Regions from separate parts of the Homo sapiens genome. Here region 1 is linked to region 2. Evidence: promoter capture Hi-C in 16 types of primary human blood cells and fetal thymus (Javierre and others, 2016). All regions are on one chromosome and are shown on one strand. The core of a region is centred on a gene start or on the middle of the fragment in contact, and the rest is flanking DNA. Distances in the headings are between cores, read along the strand shown.

Region 1 (4,757 bases), core at 602-3,101, 1.4 Mb after region 2:
ACAAAACTTGACTCCACACAAAGATACTGCGAGCCTCCCTCAGGTTAGGTGGTTCAGTTTCCATTCAATGACCATTTTAACCAGCTTCTAACCACAAGGGATCTGAACCTTTAGGGCAACATTCACTGGTCCAGCTCAACTAATGTTTACTGGGTGCTCACTGTGTATCTGGCACTGTGATAAGCACAGTACATCTCATTTAATCCCCAAAATTGGGCCCATTATTATCCCTATTTTACAGATGAGGTCACTGAGGCTAGGAGAGGTTAAGTAACTTGCCCAGTTTCACAGCTGGGAAGCTGTGTTGGAACCTAGACAAAATGAATCCAGCGCCTATTCTAACCAGTTATCCAAACAATATCCTACCAGGTTTCCCTGCTTCCAGTCCCATCGAATATACATGCCAGAGCTAGAGCAATCTTTCTAAACACCACTAAGCTTATGTCATTTTGCTGGTTAAAATCCTTCAGTGGGCAGGGTGTGGTGGCTCACGGCTGTAATCCCAGCACTTTGGGAGGCCAAGGTGGGTGGATTAACTGAGGTCAGGAGTTCGAGACCAGTCTGGCCAACATGGTGAAACCCCGTCTCTACTAAAAATACAAAAAATTAGCCAAGTGTGGTGGCGGGTACCTACAATCCCAGCTACTTGGGAGGCTGAGGCAGGAGAATCGCTTGAACCCGGGAGGTGGAGTTTGCAGTGAACCCTGATCGATCCACCGCACTCCAGCCTGGGCAACAAAAGCAAAACTCCGTCTCAAAAAAATAAAAATAAATTAAATTAAATCCTTCAATGACATGCCTCACCACCACTGAGGTAAAATTAACATGCAAGGCCTTTAGTAACTAGCCTCCTGCCAATTCTTCCCGTCTTCCCTTCTTTCTTCCTTTCTCCTCCAGCAACTTTTTCTCAGTCAACAAACGCAGAAAAATCCAGTAACTTTTTAAATCTTGTTACCCTTCAGCCTTTGTTCCTTCAGTTCTCCGGGTCTGTAATATTCCCCCCATTTTCGCCGGGAACATTCTTGCTAATCTTTTAGGAATCTGCTCAGGAACCATCTATTTGAGAAAACATTCTTACCCCGCCCCGCTGCCGTTACTTTTACCGAATGACCACACTGAATTATATTATGTGTCCCCAGCTACCTCTGTGAAGGAAGCAAACATATTTCAGAGAGTAGCCCCAGCGCCTGAGAAGTCAGGCACAGGCAAACACGGAAACGTGATGAGCAACTGAGTGGAGCTCTTCCTCCATTCGCCATCACCCTCCTCCGCCCTCCTCTCCATCCAGCAGACCTAGCGAGACTCTAGCGTGGTCCACGAGCCCCTTCCACCCACTTCCGCCAACTCTTTCTCAGACTCACAAACTTCCGCAAGTCTGAGCCTTTTACCGGGTCCCCCTGCGGCTCCAGTGCCTGCTCCGAAGCCCGGGACATATATTTATTCGGCAAAAGTTAACTTAGTGCCTACTGGGTCCCAGGAATTATGGCTACAGCGGTGTCGAGAGCCGCGGTTCTACCCTCGCCCCTGCCGAGCGACCTCGGCCTCCGACACCGGTTCCAACCTTTTCCTCGACCCCATGCCTAGCCGAACCGCCAAGGTCCTGGTCTTTCCCGCCCAGACCGAGCGGCCTCGGCCCAGGCCTTCACCGCCCTAAGTGGCTCCAACCCACGGCTTCCTCCCCGATCAGTCGCGGTTCCCACTCCACAACAGACTCGGAAGCTCCCGCGCCGCCAGCCTGTGCCCTCCTTACCATGGTGGCGGTTCTGATGGCTCTGATACCCGCCGGATTCGCCTCCTCAGAGGCCTAGCCTCTCTCCCACAGCCGATTTCCCGCCGCCGCTACCGGAAATGCAGCACCACGTAAAATGCGGTCGGGTAGAAACCTACTTCCGGTCCAGCTCACTAGCCCTGGAGTTCCGGCCCCGGAGCGGAGCTTCTGCCGAGCAGAGGCGGGGCCTGGGGACTGGGCGTTAACATCCGGCTTTGACGTAAGGAGAGCCTTAAGTTCCTGTTTGGACACCTTCCTAGCTTAAATCCGTACTGAGAGCTGCTCTGTGTCACACTCATTTCTCTTCACCCCGCCTTTCCCATTAACCTCTCGGTCCTCATTTCCCATCACCCTCCCCGGCTCTCTCCTCTACAGTCACTATTCTTGCTTTTCCCTCCACTGGCTGGACGTGCTCCTTTTTCAGCCCCTCTGCATTTGCTTTCGCCTCTGCCTGGAATGGTAGTCCCCAAGGTATACCAGAAGGCTGCTGCCCTCACCTCTTTCAAGGTTTAAGCTTAAATAACATTTTCCCAGTGAGGATTTCCCTAGCCATCCTGTAACCTTCCCACCCACCTCATCCTCATCTCTCCTGTATTTCCCTCTTGCTATCTAACACGCTGTATATTTTTGTTAGTTATTTTATTATCCCCTCCCCATTAGAATGTAAGATCCATAAGGGTGTGAATTTTTCTCTTTGTGTATTACTCATTGCTGTAGTGCCTAGAACACTTTAGCACAAAATAAGGGCTCTACCCATATTTGCTGATAATCGCATCCAGTCGTATGACATTTATTTTTTTTCTATGACTTTTTTTTTTCTTTTGAGACAGAGTCTCAGTCTGTCACCAAGGCTGGAGTGCAGTGGCACAATCTCGGCTCACTGCAACCTCTGCCTCCCCGGTTCAAGCGATTCTCCTGCCTCAGCCTCCCGAGTAGCTGGGAATACAGGCCTGTGCCACCACACTCGGCTAATTTTTGTATTTTTAGTAGAGACGGGGTTTTGCCATGTTGGCCAGGCTGGTCTCGAACTCCTGACCTCAACTCCTGGTCTCGAACTCCTGATCCACCCACTTTGGCCTCCCAAAGTGCTGGAATTACAGGCGTGAACCATCACACTGGGCCCTTCCTATGACTTTTAAATACAGCATATACACCCAAGGCTTTCAAGTTTGTTCCTCTAACCTTGGTCTCTTCATTTAACTCTTGGCCCTTTATATCCAGCTGCCAGCGTGATGTGAATGTCTAATAGGTATACCAAATTTAACATGTTGAAAACTGAATTCTTGATTCTATTCACTGTTTCTAAAACCACTTCACCAGTGTTCCCCATCCCCGAAGTTTCTTGGATTAAAAAAGAAAAAAAAGAAAATGACAAATTTGAAGCATATTTCATTCTTCTCTTTCTCTGCCATCGAATAATCAAATTCATCAGCAAATCCTGTGGCCCCCACCTTCAAATTATCTTGAATATGATTGTTGTCACCCACTCCATTGCGTCCACTCTAGTCATAGCCACCATCGTCTCTGTCTTGGATCATTGAACGAGCCCGTAACTTGTCTCTTTGCTTCCTTTCTTGTTCTCACGGCAGCCAGAGGGATCCTTCTAAACGTACTGGGATATCAGATGATGTCATGTCCTGGTCTCCACTTACCAAAAACTTCCCAGCACACATGGAATAAAATCTAGCTCTGCGCTCCTCTCCAACCTCATTCATCTCCGTCAACATTGCCCTCATTCATCCTTCTCCAGTCACACTAATCTCCTTGCTGTTCCTCAAACCCAGCAAGGAGAGCTTCCACCTTGGTGCTTTGCCATCTTCACACCATCTCTAAAGGGTGTGTTCTGTTGTCCCGTTTCCTGTCACCTGTAGATGAAGAGGCGAAGCCTCATAGAAATGAATTATGTTGCCCAAAGTGGCGGAGTCAGAGTGGGAATATAGGTCCGTCTGGCTCCTCAGCTGTTCATTTGCCCCCACCTTACCCAGCTGCCTAACACTTCATTCATGCATGCATTTAAAATCATTTTTATTTAGCATCTACTAAGGCCATGCACCATTATTGGGATAGAGTCCTTTCCCTCACGGAGCTTTACATCCTACTGAGAAAGACATAGTAAACCAAATAAATAAGTATGCAATGTAACATTAGAGTGATATGAAAAAAATAAATAAAGGCAGAGGAACTGAGAGGGATAGGGTACAGTTTTGGCTAGGTGGTCAGGGGAAACTTCTCTGAGGAGTGGTATGTGAGCAGAGACCTGAACCTACACTCAGGTCTATCAGAAGGATGAATATTATGAAGGACATTCTAGAAAATGTATATAAAGGGAATCATATAATAATACGTGGTCTTTTGTGACTACCTTCTTTCACTTAGCACAATGTTTTTAAGGCTCATCCATGTCATGACACGTATCAATACTCCATTCCTTTTTATGGCCAAATAACATTCCATTGTATGGATGTACAGTAGTCCCCCCATATCCATCTTTCACTTTCTGTGGTTTCAGTTACCCACAATCAACTGCAGTATAAAAATAGGTGAGTACAGTACAAGATATTTTGAGACCACATTCATATAACTTTTATTACAGTATATTTTTATAACTGTTCTATTAGTATTGTTAATCTCTTACTGTACCTAATTTATAAATTAAACTTTATCATAGCTATGTATGTATAAGAGAAAATAGTATATATAGGGTTTGGTAGTATCTGCCGTTCCATGAATCCACTGGTGATCTTGGAATATAACCTCCTCAGATAAGGAGGGAACTACCATATTTTATCAGTTCATCAAATGACGAACATTTGGATTGCTTCCACCTTTTGGCTGTTATAAATAATGCTGCTGTAAACATCGTGTACAAGTCTTCACGTGGACATGCTTTCATTCCTCTTTGGTATCCAGATAGGAGTGGAATTTCTGAGTCATATGATAATTCTGATTAACCATTTGAAGAACTGCCAGACTGTTTTCCAAAGTGGCT
Region 2 (4,260 bases), core at 688-3,187:
AAGGTAGACATGCTCCCTGTTCCTTTGTCACAGTCTAGTGGAAAGACAGTCATTAAATAAGCAAAGAAATAAACACCTAACATAGTTTCAGGTTATGATTAATGCTTTGCAGGAAAAAAAAAAAGCCAGAGAGGGATTAAAGACGGGAGAAGGTTATTTTGGATGGAATGGTCTGGGAAGCCCTCTGTTGAGGATGGTAGGAGTGAGGGATGAAGCCACTTGAAATGAAGAAGCAAGACATGCAGATATCTGGGAAAAGAGCATTCCAGGAAGAGGAACGCAAAGGCCCAAACAGAACACATGAAACAGGGAAACTGGCTGGGAAGCTACTGCAATAGTCTAAGTGTGAGATGCTGGAGGATCAGACCAGAGTGGAAGCAGTGAAGGTGATGGGAAGTGGTCAGATTCATAATATATTTTGAGAGTGGAGTCAACTAGCTTTGCTGTTGGACCAGATGTAGATGTGAGAGAAGAGGGGGAGCCAAGGTTATTGCACGTATAAAGGGGATGAGAGGACAGTTGAAGGAGACTGAATCAGAGAGGTACAGGGCTGGCAGGGCTGGGGCAGGAGATGGCAGACCACATGCAGATTCCTGCAGACCATGGGGAGGACTTTACTTTTCCATTGAGTGTGACGATTTTGAGCCAACGGATGTGATCTGACTTTTCTTTTTTTTTTTTTTTCTTTTTTGAGACAGAAGATCGCTCTGTTGCCCAGGCTGAAGTGCAATGGTGCGATCTTGGCTCACTGCAACCTCCACCTCCACCTCCCGGGTTCGATTGATTCTCATGCCTCAGCCTCCCGAGTACCTGGGACTAAAGGCGTGCGCCACCACACCCAGCTAATTTTTGTATTTTTAGTAGAGACAGGGTTTCACCATGTTGGCCAGGCTGGTCTCAAACTCCTGACCTCAAGTGATCCGCCTGCCTCGGCCTCACAAAGTGCTGGGATTACAGGCATGAGCCGCCACACCTGGCCGATCTGACTTGTTTTCTAACAGAATCTCTCTGGTTGCGGAGTGCAGTACAGACTAGAGAGAGACAGGAATGGAATGGGGCAGTTCTGAGGCTGATGCCAGGCATCCAAGTGAAAGATGACAGGAGCTTGAACCAGGTTAGTGACTGGGATGGGGAAACTAAATTTATTTGGGTAAAAACAATAAGTGGATTTCATGAAACTTGTTGAAGTAACGGGTGGTAAAAATCATAAAGGGGGTAGGCAAATAAATGATTGAAATTTGATAGTGGGTCAGGAGCTTCAGCTCTGCGGGCAGCAGTTGTGTCTCCTTGGAGAAGTGGTTTCAACTCTGAGCCGTTTTGTCATCTGCAAAATGGGGATAATAACGGTCCATACTTCATAGAGTTGTTGAGAGGGTGATGTAAAGGTTTTAGCGCACGATGTAGCACACAATAAACACTTAATAAATGTTATCTTAGAAGCCAGACTGCCAGGTTCCCATAACCATTTCAGCCGTTCACCGGCTGGCTGTTGTCATCTTGGTCAAATTATCCCTCTGCGCCTCAGTTTCCTCATCTGTGCAATGAGGCACATTAATCGTTAATATCAACTGCATAGAGTTGGGTTGTGAAGATTAAATAAATGAATACAAGTAAAGCGTTTAGAATAATGTGGACGGTAGCAAGCACGGCGAACGTGTTAACGATTATTAAGAATGTATTTTAGCCACATTTCCCAGCCCCTTCCCCGGCCTAGCATACCCCATTTTGTGGATGGGAAGTCTGCCTCTCAGCAAGGTGGCCTCTTGGAGGACGCTGTGCCCGCGTCAGGCGATCCTGTCGACTGCCGCCAAGACCCGGCTTCCGGCTTTGAGGGGCCACGCCCCGCTCGCACTCCCTGGCGGAACCTTTCAGTGCTGCGCTCGCGTTGCCAACCCGGCGCGCCTCACGCAGTTGCGCCCGCTGTTGGGACTACTTCCGGCTTCCCCGCCCCGCCCCGTCCCCGGGCGTCTCCATTTTGGTCTCAGGTGTGGACTCGGCAAGAACCAGCGCAAGAGGGAAGCAGAGTTATAGCTACCCCGGCCGCGGAGCCGGCTCACTGCACTACCCCCGCCCCCTTCTTTCCTCCAGACGCCGAAGTCGCGGGCGCTCATGGCGGGCCTGGAGGTACTGTTCGCATCGGCAGCGCCGGCCATCACCTGCAGGCAGGACGCGCTCGTCTGCTTCTTGCATTGGGAAGTGGTGACACACGGTTACTTCGGCTTGGGTGTCGGTGACCAGGTACGCCACGGAGCCGGCCAGGGTGGAGGAGGGAACTGTCTTCTGCCCAAACTCAGAGTACCGGAGGCCTGGTCCAGAGCGCCCGATTTCCCCGCTTCTCCCAGTGCAGGGTCTGGGGCAGATGGCAGCGTTGGTAAAACCTGCGGGTCGGAGGTTGCTCACCTGCCCCATCCCAGCCCAGAGTCCCTCACGGCACAGCTGGCACAACATGATTTGTAAACTCAAGGGCGGACACTCGCTTCAACACAGCCTGGCAGCCTCTCAGGCCAGGACTGTGTGGATCTAGCATTCCATAGAATGGCAAAGAATCTAGACAGGAGTTTAGCTCCCCAGAGCACTTCTCACCCACCTGATCCCGTCTGAACTCCTTACCACCCAGCCTCGGGGTGAGGGGACTGACTCAGTTCCGCCCTCATACCACAGTAGAGCCTCCACCAAACATCTGGATCCAAGCACAGGTACAGGAGTGAGCTTTGACCTACTCAGCCCCAGGCCAGGGCCCTTTTTTCACCCGTTAGCATGGGCCCAGAGAGTTCACACGCCTTTCACCCTTTACTGAAGGGCCCAGCATAGTCCACTCGCTACTGCCATCCCCAACTCAAGCTCTAGGAAGCAATCACCCCCAGAGTCGTACACACATACACCCTGGGTGTGAGGGTCATATAAGATTTTCTCCTCATAGTTGTCCCCATAGGGCCAGCCCCTCTTCTCCCATCCCCAGGCTCCACCTCTTACAGCTAGGGACGTCGTTGTCATCCCCACAGAGTTCTAGGACTGCTGGACCCAACCCACCTCACTAATTCTTTGCTCTGGCATTCTTCTTTCTTTCCTGTCTCTTCCCTGTGACCCTCATCCCCAACATCCACATCATCCTAGACATCTGCTTCCTGGGAGAAGTGGGCCTGCCTCCATGCCTGCCCCTCACTGTCACTGTTCTCTCACTCTCAGAACCAAGACTAGCCATGGGAAACAGACCACCCCACCTATTGCATCTTGCCATGAGATTTCACCCTTCCTCTCCTTTTTGACTGCTTCAGTTCTCAACTCCTCTAATCATTTTTTTTAGCTTCTCAAATAGAGTCTTAATTCTCCCCTCCTGACATAGCTTTAGGGACCTCTCTTCAAACTTGCTTTGTACATTCTGAGCACTTAGACAAGTATCCCCTTTCCCCCACCCCTCACTGCTGTCCCTATTCCTCTCTGTCTCTTAGAACTAAAGACCAAGACCACCATACCCCTCTCACACTTTACCCCCTCCAGCAGGAATCAGAACACAAGAACCGTCAGGGATTTCTGGCTCTTTTTTTCCCCAGACCTCAATTATCTCACTGGGACCCCAGGTACACACTCAGGATCCCCATTCCCACCTCCAAACTCACACATACTTCATCTCTCAAATGGGCTCTAAGACTAGATATGAGGATGGAAAAGAACAGCTAGCCTTTCACACACACATACCTGGAAGCAGGAATCATTTCACCTTCCCAAACACATCTGTCCCTGACCTTTCTCTTTGTGCTGCTCTTCATTCCACATACCTTCCAAATGTCTTCCAGCATTTCAGACCTTGGGACCAGGTAGAGACAGCACCCCCATTTCAGCGTCAGGCCCCTCTTTCAATGCATAGTTCCCCTAACAGAAATCTTGTCTCCCCACTTGTCTTACTCCAGCTTTTTAATCTTAAGCAGCTCTTCACTTGCCCCAGTCATTTTATTTCAACTTTTCCTAGATTCTTCAAAGAAACTGGTATGTGGGATGGTGCAGGGGACAGTGGGGCTGAGAAGAGGAGTAAGATTTGATTTTGACCTGGGATCTCCTCCATTGGCCCTCAGCTCCCCCTGCCCTTTGTCTTGTCCTTCAGATGGAACAGCTCTGCTTTGCACTCTGTCCCTCCTCATGTACCTCACTCCCCTTACCTACTCCTAGCTAGCTACTTAGACTCTGCCACACTGTCAGAACCCCATCCACCTCTGCTGAGGAACTTGTTCTAGAGGGCGTGTCTGATACCCTTCTCTCCTTGCC

What was found. Contacts are between HindIII fragments. The CHiCAGO score rates a contact against its expected background, and 5 or more counts as called.
Region 1: the fragment with the promoter of SNRPB here is called in contact with the fragment with the promoter of PSMF1 in region 2 in 1 of 17 cell types (neutrophils); the score reaches 7.5 in neutrophils.

Annotation. Positions count from the first base shown.
Region 1 is chr20:2,468,938-2,473,694 of GRCh38, forward strand. It overlaps SNRPB (small nuclear ribonucleoprotein polypeptides B and B1), which reads right to left and starts at 1,852. Exons shown (of 7, transcript NM_003091.4): 1 at 1,751-1,852. The coding sequence starts at 1,753. RefSeq lists enhancers at 1,472-1,591, 1,752-1,801, 1,812-1,861. The HindIII fragment of the contact is 1,844 bases long and covers 437-2,280 here.
Region 2 is chr20:1,116,665-1,120,924 of GRCh38, forward strand. It overlaps PSMF1 (proteasome inhibitor subunit 1), which reads left to right and starts at 1,938. Exons shown (of 7, transcript NM_006814.5): 1 at 1,938-2,238. The coding sequence starts at 2,110. LOC105372493 (a long non-coding RNA gene) reads right to left here and starts at 1,784. Exons shown (of 2, transcript NR_136535.1): 1 at 1,720-1,784; 2 at 1,188-1,324. RefSeq lists enhancers at 1,689-2,331, 1,731-1,780, 1,791-1,840, 1,851-2,040, 2,081-2,210. The HindIII fragment of the contact is 12,206 bases long and covers 1-4,260 here.